Regions from separate parts of the Homo sapiens genome. Here regions 2, 3 and 4 are each linked to region 1. The links are contacts of gene promoters, found by promoter capture Hi-C in blood cells and fetal thymus (Javierre and others, 2016). All regions are on one chromosome and are shown on one strand. Each heading gives the region's core, a stretch centred on a gene start or on the middle of the fragment in contact. The rest is flanking DNA. Distances are from core to core; before and after follow the strand shown. Region 1 holds the start of ANKRD13D (ankyrin repeat domain 13D). Region 2 holds the start of CD248 (CD248 molecule). Region 3 holds the start of RBM14 (RNA binding motif protein 14). Region 4 holds the start of RBM4 (RNA binding motif protein 4).

Region 1 (3,580 bases), core at 634-3,133:
GGCTTTCACCATGTTGCCCAGGCTGGTCTCCACCTCCTGGGCTCAAGTGATCCGCCCACTTTGGCCTCAGAAAGCGCTGGGATTACAGGAGTAAGCCACAACGCCTGGCCCTTCATCAAGTCTTGACGCACTGCTATGGCTCAGCTACGCCCAACCACTCTGCCCTGGAGAGGGTGGGCCAAGTGGGGCACTACAGTGGTCTTCAGACAATGAGGCTGTAAGCACCTGGAGGTGGAGGGCCAGCCTCAACCTGGCCATGAGCCTGTGCAGAGCCCTGGGGGAGCCTTTGTTTCCACTGGGTCTCAGAGTCCTACTCTGTAAAGGGGGCACAGTGGCTCCCTCCGAGCCTGCTCCTGGGGTAGGGGGTATGAGATAGTATGCTCTGCCAGCCAGGCCCCTCCGTGTGCTTCCAGAAGGGTGCGTAGTAGCAAGTATTCCAGGGTTTCAGGCCATAATCCACCGAGTCAACCTGAAGTCCCTGCTCCAGGTAATCTGCATTCTTCAGGAGGCCCAAAGCTGGCAAGGCTTCTCTTCCAAAGGGTCCAGTCTCTCCCACGTGAGCCTGGCCGTCTCTCTTTCCTACGTGACCCTGGGCTGGGGTCAAGATAGACAGACCTCCTTGCTGGTGGCAGGAGGCACACTGCACAAACTGGGTGCCTTTCCAAGGCCAGGCCTGGCACAGTAACCAGGGTGGTGCCCTGCCATGGTACCCCACCTCCATAACTGTGCCCTGCTGTACCTGGCGAAGTTTGTTGAGCAGTTCCGGAATGCCCGCCAGCCTCTGCGTGGCCCTCTGGTAGTCCCGATACTGGAGCACCAGCTGCACCATCTCGGGGTCTCCAGTGCTGACTGCCTCCTGCAGGACTGCGGGCACCAGGCTGCTGAGGGGAGCCCTCCAGATGACCCCAGGCCTGGCTGCTCACTGCCCCCCGCCTGCCAGCCTCAGGGGGAGCCCCTTGTCCTCTGCAGTACCTGCCCAGCCCTGGCGGTTCTCTTTGCCCACGTTGGCATTGTGTCGAAGGAGCACTCTCACAGACTCCAGGTTTCCCAGAGACACGGCCAGCTCCAGTGGGGTCCGCCCGCGGGGGTCCTCCTGTTCAATGTCGTGCTGGGGGAGACGGGACACTCACAAAGGGCAGGAGAGAAGAGGGCAAGGCAGGGAGGCTGCCAGGGCGAGCAGGGTTGGGAATCGCTGTGGGAAATAAGGACGGCGGACTGACCAGGGAGATGGCAGAGGGTGGCCTGCGTGTCCTGGCAGGGGAGAGGAGGGGGCAGGAGGGAAGGCAGGGGCAGAGCCGGGGTCTGGCGGCGGGGCCTGGTCAGGCAGAGCTGCAGGTTGTCAGGAGTTTGGCGGAACCTGGGGACCAGGACCAGAGTTCTTGTTCTCAGCTTGGGTCAGCAAGGATGCGGAAGCGAGTTCGGGCGAGCAGGGCAAGGCCCAGCGCAGGGGAGAGGAGGCCAGAGGCTCAGGCGCGAGGGGCCGGTGACCTGGGCTTGGGATCGTGCAGGGGAGGAAGGCCCAGGATGTGGCTGCGGAGCTGAGCGGGCGGGGGGGGGGGGGGGGCTCCAGGACGGAGGCCACAGCCTTGGGTGGGGGACCCGGGGGAAGGGCCGGGTGCCCCAGCGGGGCCTCACCTGGTGGCTGTGCAGTGCGGCCTCCAGTTCGCGATGCCGGTTCGCCCAGACGAGCCGGTGCAGCGGGAAGGTGGGGCCCGGGCCGGCCATGCTGGGCCTCAGCGCCGCATCCCGGCCCCGCCTCGGCTTCGGGCCTGGCACGGCCCCCTAGCCTCCCCTCCGAGCCGCGCCCCAGCTGCGCCCCCCGCGGCCCCCGCAGCAGTAGCGGCGGCGGCGGCGGCGGCGGCAGCGCGGGCGGCAGGGAGGGCGGGGCGGGCGGCGGAGCGGGCGGGGCTGCGCCGGGCCGGGGCGGGGCTTCGCGCGCGCCCCCGTCCCCCCGCAACCATGGCAACCGCGGCCAGGCCAGCGCGCGGCAGAGCAACCGCGAGCGCCCGAGGAGATGCCCGGCCTTGGGTCTGCGCCCCGACCTCGGTCGGGCCCGGGTCCGCTGGGGCGGCCTGGAGGGCGGTGCCCGGTTACAGCTCCGCCCGCGGCCCGCAGGAGGCGCCCCGAGCCCTGCGCAGACCCCCGGAGCCGGGTCCGGAAGAGGAAGGCGGGGCCGGAGGGGGCGGGCACTGGGCCCCTCGGTAGTGCACGCGCGTGCGCGGCGGGCCGCGGTCCTGCTGCAGCCGTGATGCCTGCGTTTCCCCCGCGGATCCCCTTGCTCGCCCCGGTCTTCCTACCCCAGGTCCCGCGGTCACCGACTCTGCTGGGGTGTGCGGGTGAAGTGGGGCGCCCCGGCTCCCCTCACCCGGCCTGGAGACGAGCAACGAGCAGACGCCACTAAGTGCTTGCCGGCTGAGCGGGAAGCACCTTCCCCTGGGACCTGGCCGGTGTCTGCAGGCCCAGCGATGCGGGGAGGCGGCCCCCGGGGCCCTGAAGTCAGGGATAGGAGTTCGGGGAGAGAGGGGCGCAGGCCCAGGCAGCGGCAGAGCCGTCCCGGCGGAGGACCGCCCGCGGCGAACGGCTGCCTTCGCCCGCCGCACGAGTCCCTTTTGCAGAGGCTGCGGTTGGCTGCCAGCGTCAGGAGAGGAAGGCGAGTTTCGAAATCAGGGCCGGCCCCTCCACCCACACCGGAACTAGGGTGCAGGCCTCCGTCAGCTCAGTTCCGGCCCTTGATTACTGGAGGCCCAGCCTGGGGTCTGGGGCCCTGGTTTTGCTAGGTGGCCAAGGCTGACCCTCTATTCTCCCTTTCCCTACGTGGAACATGATTGAGGAGGGCCAGCTAGCTTGAGCATCACTTCCTGCTGTAGGGCGTCCTCAGTTCTGAGACTCTGGGCTGGAAGGCCTGATTGCCATTTTTACCCTGCCTTCTCCCTGTAGTCACATGGCGCCTGTGCCATCTGGGGTCACTTTGCCACCCCACGCTATGGTGTCAATCTGTGAGGTCCTGGGGTTGGTAGCAGCCCGAAGGCTTCTGAATGCCCAGAGCTCACCTGCTCACCACTACTGCAGCCCTCCCTGGCCACCCCTTTTCTCAGAGGCGGTCCCTTCCCTGAGCCCTCTCCAAACTCAACCCCGACAGGACTTTCTTGGTTCCAGCCTCTCCTGATTTCTGCCATCTTGAACACAGCTCCCCACTGGCACTTAATTCCATGACAGTGCCTTCTCAACCCTCTTCCACGGCCTCCTCTCTCTCCCTGACCCCCACATCCCTGGGAGAGAGACTGTCCGTTCCCATTGTCACCCTGATGCCACCCCCAGGTCCACATTTCAGCTTACTCCAGGACATCTCTGTGCCCAGGGATCCCATGCTATCCCATCAGTATGTCCGAAGCCAACCCAACCACACCTACCCTCTTCCCCAGACTCCCGCCTCACTCAGCCCCAAGTCCAGCCTGTTTCTGCTGGACCACGTTCTTCCCGTCTGGCCTCTTTTCATCTCTTCCTCTCCCACTGCGGAGGTTTGTCTCCCTGCCTCCTGTCCTTCACCTCCCTCCCCACATCCTGTACTCAGTAACCAGGC
Region 2 (3,580 bases), core at 281-2,780, 970 kb after region 1:
CCCACCACATATGCTCAGAAGACAGGAACATTTGCTTCAGGCTCCACAGCTGACAAAGCACATTTGCAAACACTGAGCGCTGTGACGCAATATCTCAGCCCTGCTGAGCTAAAAATCCTGGACTCATTGCCCTCATGTTGCAACTGAGAAAAAAGGAGACCCAGAGAGGGCCAGTGACTCCCCTGCAGTCACAAAGTCGATCCATCTGTGGCAGAGGGGGAAGCTGCATCAGGGCAGTTTACTGAAGGGCGGAACCTCTCCCCCACCTCCCCACACTGTTTCTAACTTCTGCTAAGAGTGCAGCGGGTGTGCATGGGTTAATCCGCCAGCCAGCTCCCCAGAGGCCATCCTGGATGATGGGCTCAGTGCACATGCCTCCAGAGGCCTCCAGGAAGGGCGGGAAGAGGACCCTGGCCAGGCCGAAACAGCAGGCCCCGGGGGCAGGGAGGGCTCCACACACGTGATGCCTGTGTCACATATACACATATATGTCACTGTGTGCCCCATGCCCATACATGGCCTTGCATGGGTCCCCTCACAGCCTTCCACATCCTGCGTGCAGCCCAGCCCCCACCCAGCCCCCTAAACCACGCACCCTGCCTTCCTGACGCAGGAGCCCAGAGAGGCATTTCCTGTTTAGGGGCTGCCTCCTCCCCCTCTAAGCCCAGGTTCCCAGGGCCCCAGGCTGAGCTGGGGTGAGGGGAGGGCAGCCCCTGGCCCCCTCACTCCCCCAACACCCCCACACGCTGGCCCAGCTGGAACCAGAAAGCTTGAGTATAGGGGGAGAGGCTGACGCAGGGGCTCAGTAAATAAATGAGAGGCTGAGGATGCCTGTGCCTGGGTGACCAAGCTGTTTCCATTCAGGCCGAATCGGAGGTCTTCATATGTCAGGCCATGTAGAATGCCACACCATTTTTGTATGTGCACCTAGGGTCTCAGCATGTCAGAATGTGTGTACGTGTGGCAAGGGAGTCATCTGCAAGCCAGCATAGGTCCACGGTGAGGTGAAGGGACAAACAGCTTGGCAGAGAGTGCACTCTTGCATGGGGTTGGGGGTGGGGGAGGCGCATGCGCGCGTCTGTGGGGCAAGAAAGGAGTGGGCATGAGGGTGTTCCCGTGCATGGCGAGCAGCTGGGCTGAGACTGCTCCCGGGTGTGATGGGGCTGCTGTGTCCAGATTTGGGTCTCTGAGTCTCTGGGAAGCGACCTCACCCCACAGCCCCGAGCCCCAACTTGAGGGTCACAGAGCTCGGCAGGCAGGCTTTTCCCACCCCCTGACTCTCAGCCCCATGGGGCCTGGGGCAGCCGTCAACTGCGCCTTCTCCCCTCCTCCGCCCCCAACCTTAGAGCCCCCCACCCCACTGCTTCCTGCTCTAGCGGCCCCCGGGGAAGAGGGAGCAGGGAGCTGGCAGCCGCCCCAGCCCACTCCTTACAAGGCCTGAGCCCGGCCCCAGGCCCGCCCCCGGCCCGCCCGCAGGAGGCCCCAGGCCCTCCCCCTGTCAAGAGCTGCCGCCAGCCCGGGGCCGGACCAGTCCGGGGGCATCGCGATGCTGCTGCGCCTGTTGCTGGCCTGGGCGGCCGCAGGGCCCACACTGGGCCAGGACCCCTGGGCTGCTGAGCCCCGTGCCGCCTGCGGCCCCAGCAGCTGCTACGCTCTCTTCCCACGGCGCCGCACCTTCCTGGAGGCCTGGCGGGCCTGCCGCGAGCTGGGGGGCGACCTGGCCACTCCTCGGACCCCCGAGGAGGCCCAGCGTGTGGACAGCCTGGTGGGTGCGGGCCCAGCCAGCCGGCTGCTGTGGATCGGGCTGCAGCGGCAGGCCCGGCAATGCCAGCTGCAGCGCCCACTGCGCGGCTTCACGTGGACCACAGGGGACCAGGACACGGCTTTCACCAACTGGGCCCAGCCAGCCTCTGGAGGCCCCTGCCCGGCCCAGCGCTGTGTGGCCCTGGAGGCAAGTGGCGAGCACCGCTGGCTGGAGGGCTCGTGCACGCTGGCTGTCGACGGCTACCTGTGCCAGTTTGGCTTCGAGGGCGCCTGCCCGGCGCTGCAAGATGAGGCGGGCCAGGCCGGCCCAGCCGTGTATACCACGCCCTTCCACCTGGTCTCCACAGAGTTTGAGTGGCTGCCCTTCGGCTCTGTGGCCGCTGTGCAGTGCCAGGCTGGCAGGGGAGCCTCTCTGCTCTGCGTGAAGCAGCCTGAGGGAGGTGTGGGCTGGTCACGGGCTGGGCCCCTGTGCCTGGGGACTGGCTGCAGCCCTGACAACGGGGGCTGCGAACACGAATGTGTGGAGGAGGTGGATGGTCACGTGTCCTGCCGCTGCACTGAGGGCTTCCGGCTGGCAGCAGACGGGCGCAGTTGCGAGGACCCCTGTGCCCAGGCTCCGTGCGAGCAGCAGTGTGAGCCCGGTGGGCCACAAGGCTACAGCTGCCACTGTCGCCTGGGTTTCCGGCCAGCGGAGGATGATCCGCACCGCTGTGTGGACACAGATGAGTGCCAGATTGCCGGTGTGTGCCAGCAGATGTGTGTCAACTACGTTGGTGGCTTCGAGTGTTATTGTAGCGAGGGACATGAGCTGGAGGCTGATGGCATCAGCTGCAGCCCTGCAGGGGCCATGGGTGCCCAGGCTTCCCAGGACCTCGGAGATGAGTTGCTGGATGACGGGGAGGATGAGGAAGATGAAGACGAGGCCTGGAAGGCCTTCAACGGTGGCTGGACGGAGATGCCTGGGATCCTGTGGATGGAGCCTACGCAGCCGCCTGACTTTGCCCTGGCCTATAGACCGAGCTTCCCAGAGGACAGAGAGCCACAGATACCCTACCCGGAGCCCACCTGGCCACCCCCGCTCAGTGCCCCCAGGGTCCCCTACCACTCCTCAGTGCTCTCCGTCACCCGGCCTGTGGTGGTCTCTGCCACGCATCCCACACTGCCTTCTGCCCACCAGCCTCCTGTGATCCCTGCCACACACCCAGCTTTGTCCCGTGACCACCAGATCCCCGTGATCGCAGCCAACTATCCAGATCTGCCTTCTGCCTACCAACCCGGTATTCTCTCTGTCTCTCATTCAGCACAGCCTCCTGCCCACCAGCCCCCTATGATCTCAACCAAATATCCGGAGCTCTTCCCTGCCCACCAGTCCCCCATGTTTCCAGACACCCGGGTCGCTGGCACCCAGACCACCACTCATTTGCCTGGAATCCCACCTAACCATGCCCCTCTGGTCACCACCCTCGGTGCCCAGCTACCCCCTCAAGCCCCAGATGCCCTTGTCCTCAGAACCCAGGCCACCCAGCTTCCCATTATCCCAACTGCCCAGCCCTCTCTGACCACCACCTCCAGGTCCCCTGTGTCTCCTGCCCATCAAATCTCTGTGCCTGCTGCCACCCAGCCCGCAGCCCTCCCCACCCTCCTGCCCTCTCAGAGCCCCACTAACCAGACCTCACCCATCAGCCCTACACATCCCCATTCCAAAGCCCCCCAAATCCCAAGGGAAGATGGCCCCAGTCCCAAGTTGGCCCTGTGGCTGCCCTCACCAGCTCCCACAGCAGCCCCAACAGCCCTGGGGGAGGCTGGTCTTGCCGAG
Region 3 (3,580 bases), core at 545-3,044, 670 kb after region 1:
CTTTATATTTCCCCCACTTAAAGGACTAGGAATGGCCCCAAACATGTGCCTTTCCAGGACAGCAAATGAAATATCTTGGTGGGATAAATAAGCACTTGCACCCACATTTATTTCCTATCCCTGAAACTTCTCACACAGGGTATGAGCAGGTATGAACCCACCAGGAGTAGGGCATCAGATACTCCCAGGCTGCATCTTCCAAAATGACAGGGCAAAGTTAACTCTGATCTGTTCCCAAGTGGAGCAGAGACTGGCCACATACACAACGGCTGTCCCACCAAATCTTGCCAATGTAAAAGATAAAGAGCTTAAGGGATAAAAACTCAAGCTATGAAAAAGTCAACTGGGTCCCTAGTCAGGCTTAAATTATGGTGACACATTTTTCTCGAAGAAAAGGCACCGGGATCTGCCCTGAGAATCAGACTACTCAAGCAATGACTACTACTGATTCAGTAAACCGTGTTTAGCCACTGTTTAATGAAGAGCTCTCACAGACCCCTCCCCAGGACCCCCTCAGCCAGAGTATGCCCCCCTGCAAAGTCACCAAGCTTATAAAAGAATGACACTGCCCTAGGGCACTGGCTTGGCATGTAAAGACTACGCAGAAGGGGACTTCATAAAACAAGCTTTCTTGCACATGCAAAAGGCTGGGGTTTCCAGTTGACAGATGTAAAATCGAGCCCAAAGAAAAACCCCAAGTTTGAGGGAGGAGAAAAGCACAGAGCTGCCACGCCTAACCTACCTAATATTGAAAGGCCAAAGTGATTCGGAAGGGGCCCCTCTCGTACCCACGTGTAACTGTGCCCATGAGTAGACCCATGCCAGACAAGACTAAAAGACCCCAGCCCGAGAAACGTCCAAGGGCCCCGTTACCTTCCGCTTGAGCACATTCATCGGGAGGGAACAGGAGGGCGGCCTTGGGGCGTCAGCCCCCACCTTTTCCCTCTTCCCTTGCTCTGACCGACGTCTGGAGAGGAAGTGGGGAAGTGGAGAAATCTTCCCCGCTTCATGATCCGGCTTGTGCCCGTCACTTCCCAATTTCCGCTGGGTGCCAGGCCCAGGAGACCAGGAGAAGGCGCGCCCCCGGAACACTCGCAAGGCTCTCAGGCGCGTCCCCGGCCCCGTAGCTTGGCTCGCAGTGGCCGCCGCACCCACCCAGAGCCGCTTCCTCCTACTTGGTGGACGGTTCCTGGACCGCAGGGGAGGAGGGTGGCTCTACCCAACGCGCCCCCAACACCTCCGACCTGCTCCCGCGCACTTCCCCACCCCTCCCAACCGCGCAGTGACCGACCCCCGGGTAAGGGGCGTGGCTAACAGGCAGAGTGCCCCGAGCGCGCCCCCGCCCCCGAGCGCGCCTCCGCGTTACCTTTCACCACGTCACACTCGATGACGCGTCCGCGGCGCTCGAAGAGGCTGCGCAGTTCCTGGCTCGTGCATGCAGCCGACACATTGCCCACGAAAATCTTCCAAGTATTAAGAGGCCTTGGGCGCGACATCTCCACCACGAGCGCGCGCCCCGGCCGCAGCTCGTGGCCGTGCAGGGCTTCGATGGCGCGCAGCGCGCCCGCGTTCTCGCGCATGTGCACGAAGGCGAACTGTTTCATGACGGCGCAGCTCATGACCGTGCCGTAGGGCGCAAAGAGGGCTGCCAGCTCCTCCGGAGTCGTATCCGCCCCGTCGACGTTGCCCACGAATATCTTCATTTTGTCGCCGCAGCCACCTTCCTGGAGAGCCCGGACCTCTCCTCCAGCGACAGGCAAGACGTCCGAACGACCGGCAGTCCTCCTCAGGAATGGCTGGCGACCGAGAACCCCGCCGCGCAGGCGCCCTGGCCTAGCCAATGGGGACTCGCATCCCGCGCGTCCAGCGACCAATCAGAAACGCTGAGGGAAGATGTGCTCAGGCACAGCCAATCCCAGAGGGCCTAGAGCCCGCTCGTTAGCTGAGGGGGTGGGAAAGGGACGACCAACCGCCACAGCCCGTGGCGGGAGAGGGGGTTGGGAAGAAGAGGGAGGGCTGAAGAGAGGAGAACGCGCGCGAGCGGCGCCGGCGGCAGAGAGGCCTAGTCTGTAAGGCGGTCTCTGGCCCGGGTGGGGCTGGGACCGGCGGGCTCCCAGGAAAACTTTGTACAATTGGAAGTCAGGGCTCCTCCCATTCTGGAAGCCCTGTCCAAACCCGCGCCTGGGGGTTGCCGCGTGAGTGTACGGGGGAAGGCCGGGCCTGGCGGGAGAAACCAGGACAGGCGCCTTGAGTCGGCAAACGGCTCCCAGGACTGTGCTGAGCACCGCGAGGGGACCTGAGGCAGGCCCCGGAGAAGCCCTCGTGCCATTAATTGATTCTTTGGAAACATTCCCTGGGGTTGCTGAGGTCCTGGCAGCCGGTGAAAAATCAAAGGCCTCTGCCCTGATGGAATTCCCAGTCAAGAAATAATGGAATGACGTTATTGTATGTTGAAGGTTTTCATAATAAACAGTTTAATAAACGAGAAAATTAATTCTGCAGGAAGCAAAAGTTGAGCCTTAAAAAAAATTTTAGTCCGGGAGCGGTGGCTCACGCCTGTAATTCCAGCACTTTGGGAGACCAAGGCAAGCAGATCACCGGAGGTCAGGAGTTCAGGACCAGCCTGGCCAAAATGGTGAAACCCCGTCTCTACTAAAAATACAAAATTAGCCGGGTGTGGTGGTGCGCGCCTGTAATCCCAGCTACTTGGGAGGCTGAGGCAGGAGAATCACTTGAACCCGGAAGGCGGAGGTTGCAGTGAGCCAAGATCACGCCACTGCACTCCAGCATGGGCGACAGTGAGATTCCGTCTCAAAAATTTTTTTAAACAGATTTGAGTATGTAAATAAGATTGTTGCATGGCAGACAACATCAAAAACATAGACATGTGACAAACTCAGGGAAATATTTGCCTACGTGTTCAGTCAACAAATAGCACCTACCATGTGGACACCACCAAGAATATAGCAGTGAACAAAAAAAAATGACAGAAATCCCAACCTTCTTGGATCTTATGGTGGGGAGAAACAGGCAAGAAATAAGTAAAACATAAGCGTGTTAGATGGTGATGAGGACTTGGAGTAATCAAGGGAACTAAGCCATCCTCTGAGGGAAGATCATGCCGGCCAGAAAGTACAAGTCAAAGAGTGCTGGGGCAGAAGCAAATCTGGTTCAAGGAAGAGTCAAGAGCCAGTATGGGCCAGGCCCGGTGGCTCACGCCTGTAATCCCAGCACTTTGGGAGGCTGAGGCGGGCGGATCACCTGAGGTCAAGAGTTCGAGACCAGTCTGACCAACATGGTAAAACCCTGTCTCTACTAAAACTACAAAACATTAGCTTTGCGCAGTGGCAGTATCATAGCCAATGAGGTTTATCCGAGGCGCAATTATTGCTAATTGAAAACAAAACATTAGCCATGCATGATGACTGGCACCTGTAATCCCAGCTACTCAGGAGGCTGAGGCATTAAAATCACTTGAACCCAGGAGGTGGAGGTTGCAGTGGGCTGAGATCACGCCACCACACTCCATCCTGGCCAACAGAGCAGGACTCTGTCTCCAAAAAAAAAAAAAAAAAAGAGC
Region 4 (3,580 bases), core at 748-3,247, 650 kb after region 1:
AGGAAGTCCTAAAATCAGCCTTGTAATTCTAGAGTGGCCTTAAACTCAAAATACAATCCCTTGGTACAGGTATAATATAAAAGCAACAAGAGCTGTAACCCTTTAAAGAGTTTGTGTAAGGTAGGACAGCTTAACAAGGATTCTGGTCCTATAAGTGTCGCTTGACATGTTTTTGAGAGGTTCTTCACGTAAAATGCAGAATTCTGATCCTGTGCTGAGGGCAATAAATTCAGAGTGAGGAACTCTGAACTGTGCTCTACTACAAAAAAATAAAAAATAAAAAAGGCCCAGTAACTCAGAAAGCCTTCAAAGAAAAGGGTTTCTGCACTGATAAGCACAAAAGCCGTAGGGGCTCCAAATAAAAGGTGAGTGGCTTTTCTCCAGGAGACATTTGCCTAAGGTAAAGCCCCTAAGTCCCATGCATTCTACATCATAAGAAGTCCATCACCCACACTTATTTCTTCATCACCAGCCAGCCAACAGCTGTTATCTTTACCAAACCTCTCCTTTTACTTATCCAACCATTTTCTGCACACAGCCTTGTGTTCAGCCCTCTACCCAAAGAGGGTGGTTCACCTTGAAACTCTGTGTTATCAAGGCCCCTGATGGCCTCCACTGCATCCTCTGCCCGCTCCATGTGTACGAAGGCATAATCTTTCACGATGTCACATTCGATGACCGGACCATACTCCTCAAACTTGGCTCGAAGCTCCTTATTGGTGCAGGTGGGACTGATGTTGCCCACATGCAACTTTGTTGAGGTTTTGCTCTTATTCTTGCTGGCTTCCACGTTGATGTTCACCCCATGAAGCTTGTAATGGTGCAGGTTGCGTATGGCATCCTCAGCTGCCGTCTTGTCTTCTATGTGCACAAAGCCGTAATTCTTAATGATGTCACATTCCAGCACCTTCCCATACTGCTCGAAGAGTGAGCGAATCTCCTGCTCTGTAGCCTCCCGGGGCAGGTTTCCGATGAACAGCTTCACCATCCTGACAAGAGCCTGGGAGAGAAAAACAAGACATCTGACAAAAGACCTCAGGCCCACATCCGTTCACAAAAGACAACGACTTTCACTCTAATGTATATTTCCAGTTTTCTCTCTCACACGCCTGCACACACACCTCCACACAATAATCAAATGGAAGTGGGAGTGAACTAAGGCCTGCTATAGTAGCCGCCATGAACCTGTAAGAATAAGAAGACGTCTGCAATAGGGAGGTCCTTAGTAGACAAAGGGTTTGGTAAGAACCGATACCTTCCAACAGAAATGGGCATGAAAGACAGCATATGAAGAAATGGGGGTACTAGGCTTTTCTATCCACTAGGAGGACAACAGAAAACAAAAGTCTACTAGGCTTGCTGACTGCCTGCCTGAAATTATCAACAGGCTTTTCCTCACGTAGGAACCAAAGCAGCCATCATTTCCGGGAAAATGGGCCTTGTAATAGCTACATTTGAGTTTCCTTTGGAAGTAATGAACGCGCGACTCGGATCAGACAGCGAGGAGTGGGAGATAAAGGAAATACTGGAGTGGTGAACGCCTCTCTCGGGGCACCGTCCTAGCTCCTGCCGAACACTGAAATGCGCGGCCGCGGAAAAGAGCTTCAGATTCATTAACCAGACGATGTCTCACGGCCCGAGAAATTCCCGAAACGAGAATGTAACTGTCAGATATAAGGGAAAGGGGGTTATCCCAGTGGAAATCTCGAGGCTCCAAGAGCAGCCATGTCGGGCGCGGGACAGGGTGGGCGAAAAAAAGCAAGGTATTCTCAGGGGGCGGTGGGGGAAGGGCTGCTCCCGGCTTACCGCGCAATGCCGAGGACCGAGGTCGGCTCTCAGTGACGGGTGTGGAGACTGCGGACCTACCAGGACACCCCCGAAGCCCAAGGGAGTGAGAGAAGATTTAACACAGTACAAGAAAGGCAGTGGAAAGGCTCGGAGTCTCACCCGCACAGAAACCAGCAGGGCCTCCTCCTCGCGGCGCGGACGCTTCTGACAAAACGCTAAAATGGCGGCGGCCGCAGCAGTGCTCTGAGTAGAAGGGGGAGGTGAGCCTACAACCGGATTGGCCACTCAAGAAAGTAAAAGGCCGGCGTTCCCTCAGATCCTCTTCCTGATTGGTTACCACGGACGCCAATTACCTAAGAGGCCGGCAAGAGGTGGAAACGTCTGTAACCTCGGAGCTTTTATGCGAAAGCCAATGGGCACCAACCTCGCGAAGCCGAACTCGCTGATTGGGCAAGAGATCAGCGTGAGGGCGGACCTACAAACGTGGGCTTCGCCGGCGGGGTGCGGCCCGCCATTAGGCGGAGCGAGCTAGAGCCCCGGGGTAGCAGTCTTTAGCTTCATGGCGCCAACTTCGTTAAGCTTCCACATTTCGCCACCTCCACGTGCACAGCCAGACAGTATTCCGCGCTCCATTTTGCCGTTCACTCTAGGTGTCTCCCTCTAACCTCCCAAGCACCACCCCCCCTCGCGGCCAGGACGCTGTGGAAATAGCTTATGCAGGCACATGCCAGGGAAGAAAAACAACGAAGACCCCCCCCAACCCACCACCCACCACTTCAGGAAACCAACCTTCTCCTTGGGCCAGCAGTCCACACTGTAGCCTTGAGAGTCCCGGAGCTCCCCCAAAATCAAACCTCTCACAGGTGGTGAAAGGACCTCTGTAATGGCCTTCCAGAAGTAGGCCCGGCAGGAGGCTGCACTGTCCAGGAGACGCTGAGGACAAGTTCCCTCTGGGAACCAGCCTCCCAGGGTCCGCGATGAAGAAACCTTTCTGAGACCATGGAGATTTAAAGTATACCCCGACCCCACCCTGAGAAAAAACTGGAGCAGCAAAGGTTTTTTTGTTTTATTTTATTGGGCGCCATCAGCCAGAGCTGTTTTAATCCCCTAGAACCGACTTTAGAGGACAGAGCTTAGTCACAACCAGCTGTAAACAAAATACAAAGTAACATTCTCCAGAGGGTCCAGCTGCTGCCTCGTTTTCTCTCATCCTTAGGCTGCTTCATATTCATTAAGCAAGCAACTTTAGTCAAGACCCTTTGCGAAGCAGCTTTTGAAAAGGGTTAAAAGGTGGAGTGCAGGGACTGGATGGAAGAACTTATAACACGAACAAAACAGGCTAAAAGCAGTGCAGAGTTTATGAGGAAAGGGATCATCAGGAGTGAAGATGACACAAGTACCACACACCACCATCCAAAGCAGCTTCTTCACCACCACCCCCGCCCCAAAAAGAGAACGGTTTCATAAAGAGAAAGGTGAAGTCAGAGTTTGGGGGGGAAAAAAAAGAGTGGGTTTTAAAACCCAACACGAGGGCCAGGTGCGGTGGCCCACGCCTGTAATCCCAGCACTTTGGGAGGCCGAGGCGGGCGGATCACCTGAGGTCAGGAGTTCAAGACCAGCCTAGCCAACATGGTGAACGCCATCTCCACTAAAAATACAAAAATTAGCCCAATGTGGTGGCAGGCCCCTGTAATCCCAGCTACTCAGGAGGCTGAGGCAGGAGAATCGCTTGAACCCGGGAGGCAGAGGTTGCAGTGAGGCAAGACAAGAGTGGCCTGGACGACAAGAGTGA

What was found. The method cuts DNA at HindIII sites, captures the fragments that hold promoters and counts their contacts. A CHiCAGO score of 5 or more calls a contact.
Region 2: the fragment with the promoter of CD248 here is called in contact with the fragment with the promoter of ANKRD13D in region 1 in 4 of 17 cell types (naive CD8 T cells, fetal thymus, total CD8 T cells and 1 more); the score reaches 9.6 in naive CD8 T cells.
Region 3: a contact is called between the fragment with the promoter of RBM14 here and the fragment with the promoter of ANKRD13D in region 1, in 2 of 17 cell types (non-activated CD4 T cells and M0 macrophages). The highest score is 6.9, in non-activated CD4 T cells.
Region 4: the fragment with the promoter of RBM4 here is called in contact with the fragment with the promoter of ANKRD13D in region 1 in 1 of 17 cell types (total CD8 T cells); the score reaches 5.3 in total CD8 T cells.

The regions. Positions count from the first base shown.
Region 1 is chr11:67,287,606-67,291,185 of GRCh38, reverse strand. ANKRD13D (ankyrin repeat domain 13D) reads right to left here and starts at 1,883. Exons shown (of 15, transcript NM_207354.3): 1 at 1,636-1,883; 2 at 973-1,108; 3 at 740-864. The coding sequence starts at 1,725. RefSeq lists enhancers at 1-608, 609-1,533, 2,768-2,977 and silencers at 1,528-2,297, 2,478-2,547. The HindIII fragment of the contact is 22,420 bases long and covers 1-3,580 here.
Region 2 is chr11:66,314,994-66,318,573 of GRCh38, reverse strand. CD248 (CD248 molecule) reads left to right here and starts at 1,530. Exons shown (of 1, transcript NM_020404.3): 1 at 1,530-3,580. The coding sequence starts at 1,547. RefSeq lists a silencer at 1,332-1,601 and an enhancer at 2,085-2,781. The HindIII fragment of the contact is 3,746 bases long and covers 772-3,580 here.
Region 3 is chr11:66,614,844-66,618,423 of GRCh38, reverse strand. It overlaps RBM14 (RNA binding motif protein 14), which reads right to left and starts at 1,794. Exons shown (of 3, transcript NM_006328.4): 1 at 1,367-1,794. The coding sequence starts at 1,703. RBM14-RBM4 (RBM14-RBM4 readthrough) reads right to left here and starts at 1,794. Exons shown (of 2, transcript NM_001198846.2): 1 at 1,367-1,794. The coding sequence starts at 1,703. It also overlaps the pseudogene RNU4-39P. RefSeq lists enhancers at 1,549-1,778, 911-1,844, 2,209-2,318. The HindIII fragment of the contact is 6,097 bases long and covers 629-3,580 here.
Region 4 is chr11:66,637,120-66,640,699 of GRCh38, reverse strand. It overlaps RBM4 (RNA binding motif protein 4), which reads right to left and starts at 1,997. Exons shown (of 4, transcript NM_002896.4): 1 at 1,948-1,997; 2 at 577-1,000. The coding sequence starts at 988. The region is part of intron 1 of RBM14-RBM4 (RBM14-RBM4 readthrough); the gene reads right to left. RefSeq lists enhancers at 1,121-1,832, 1,699-2,068, 1,833-2,546. The HindIII fragment of the contact is 1,556 bases long and covers 814-2,369 here.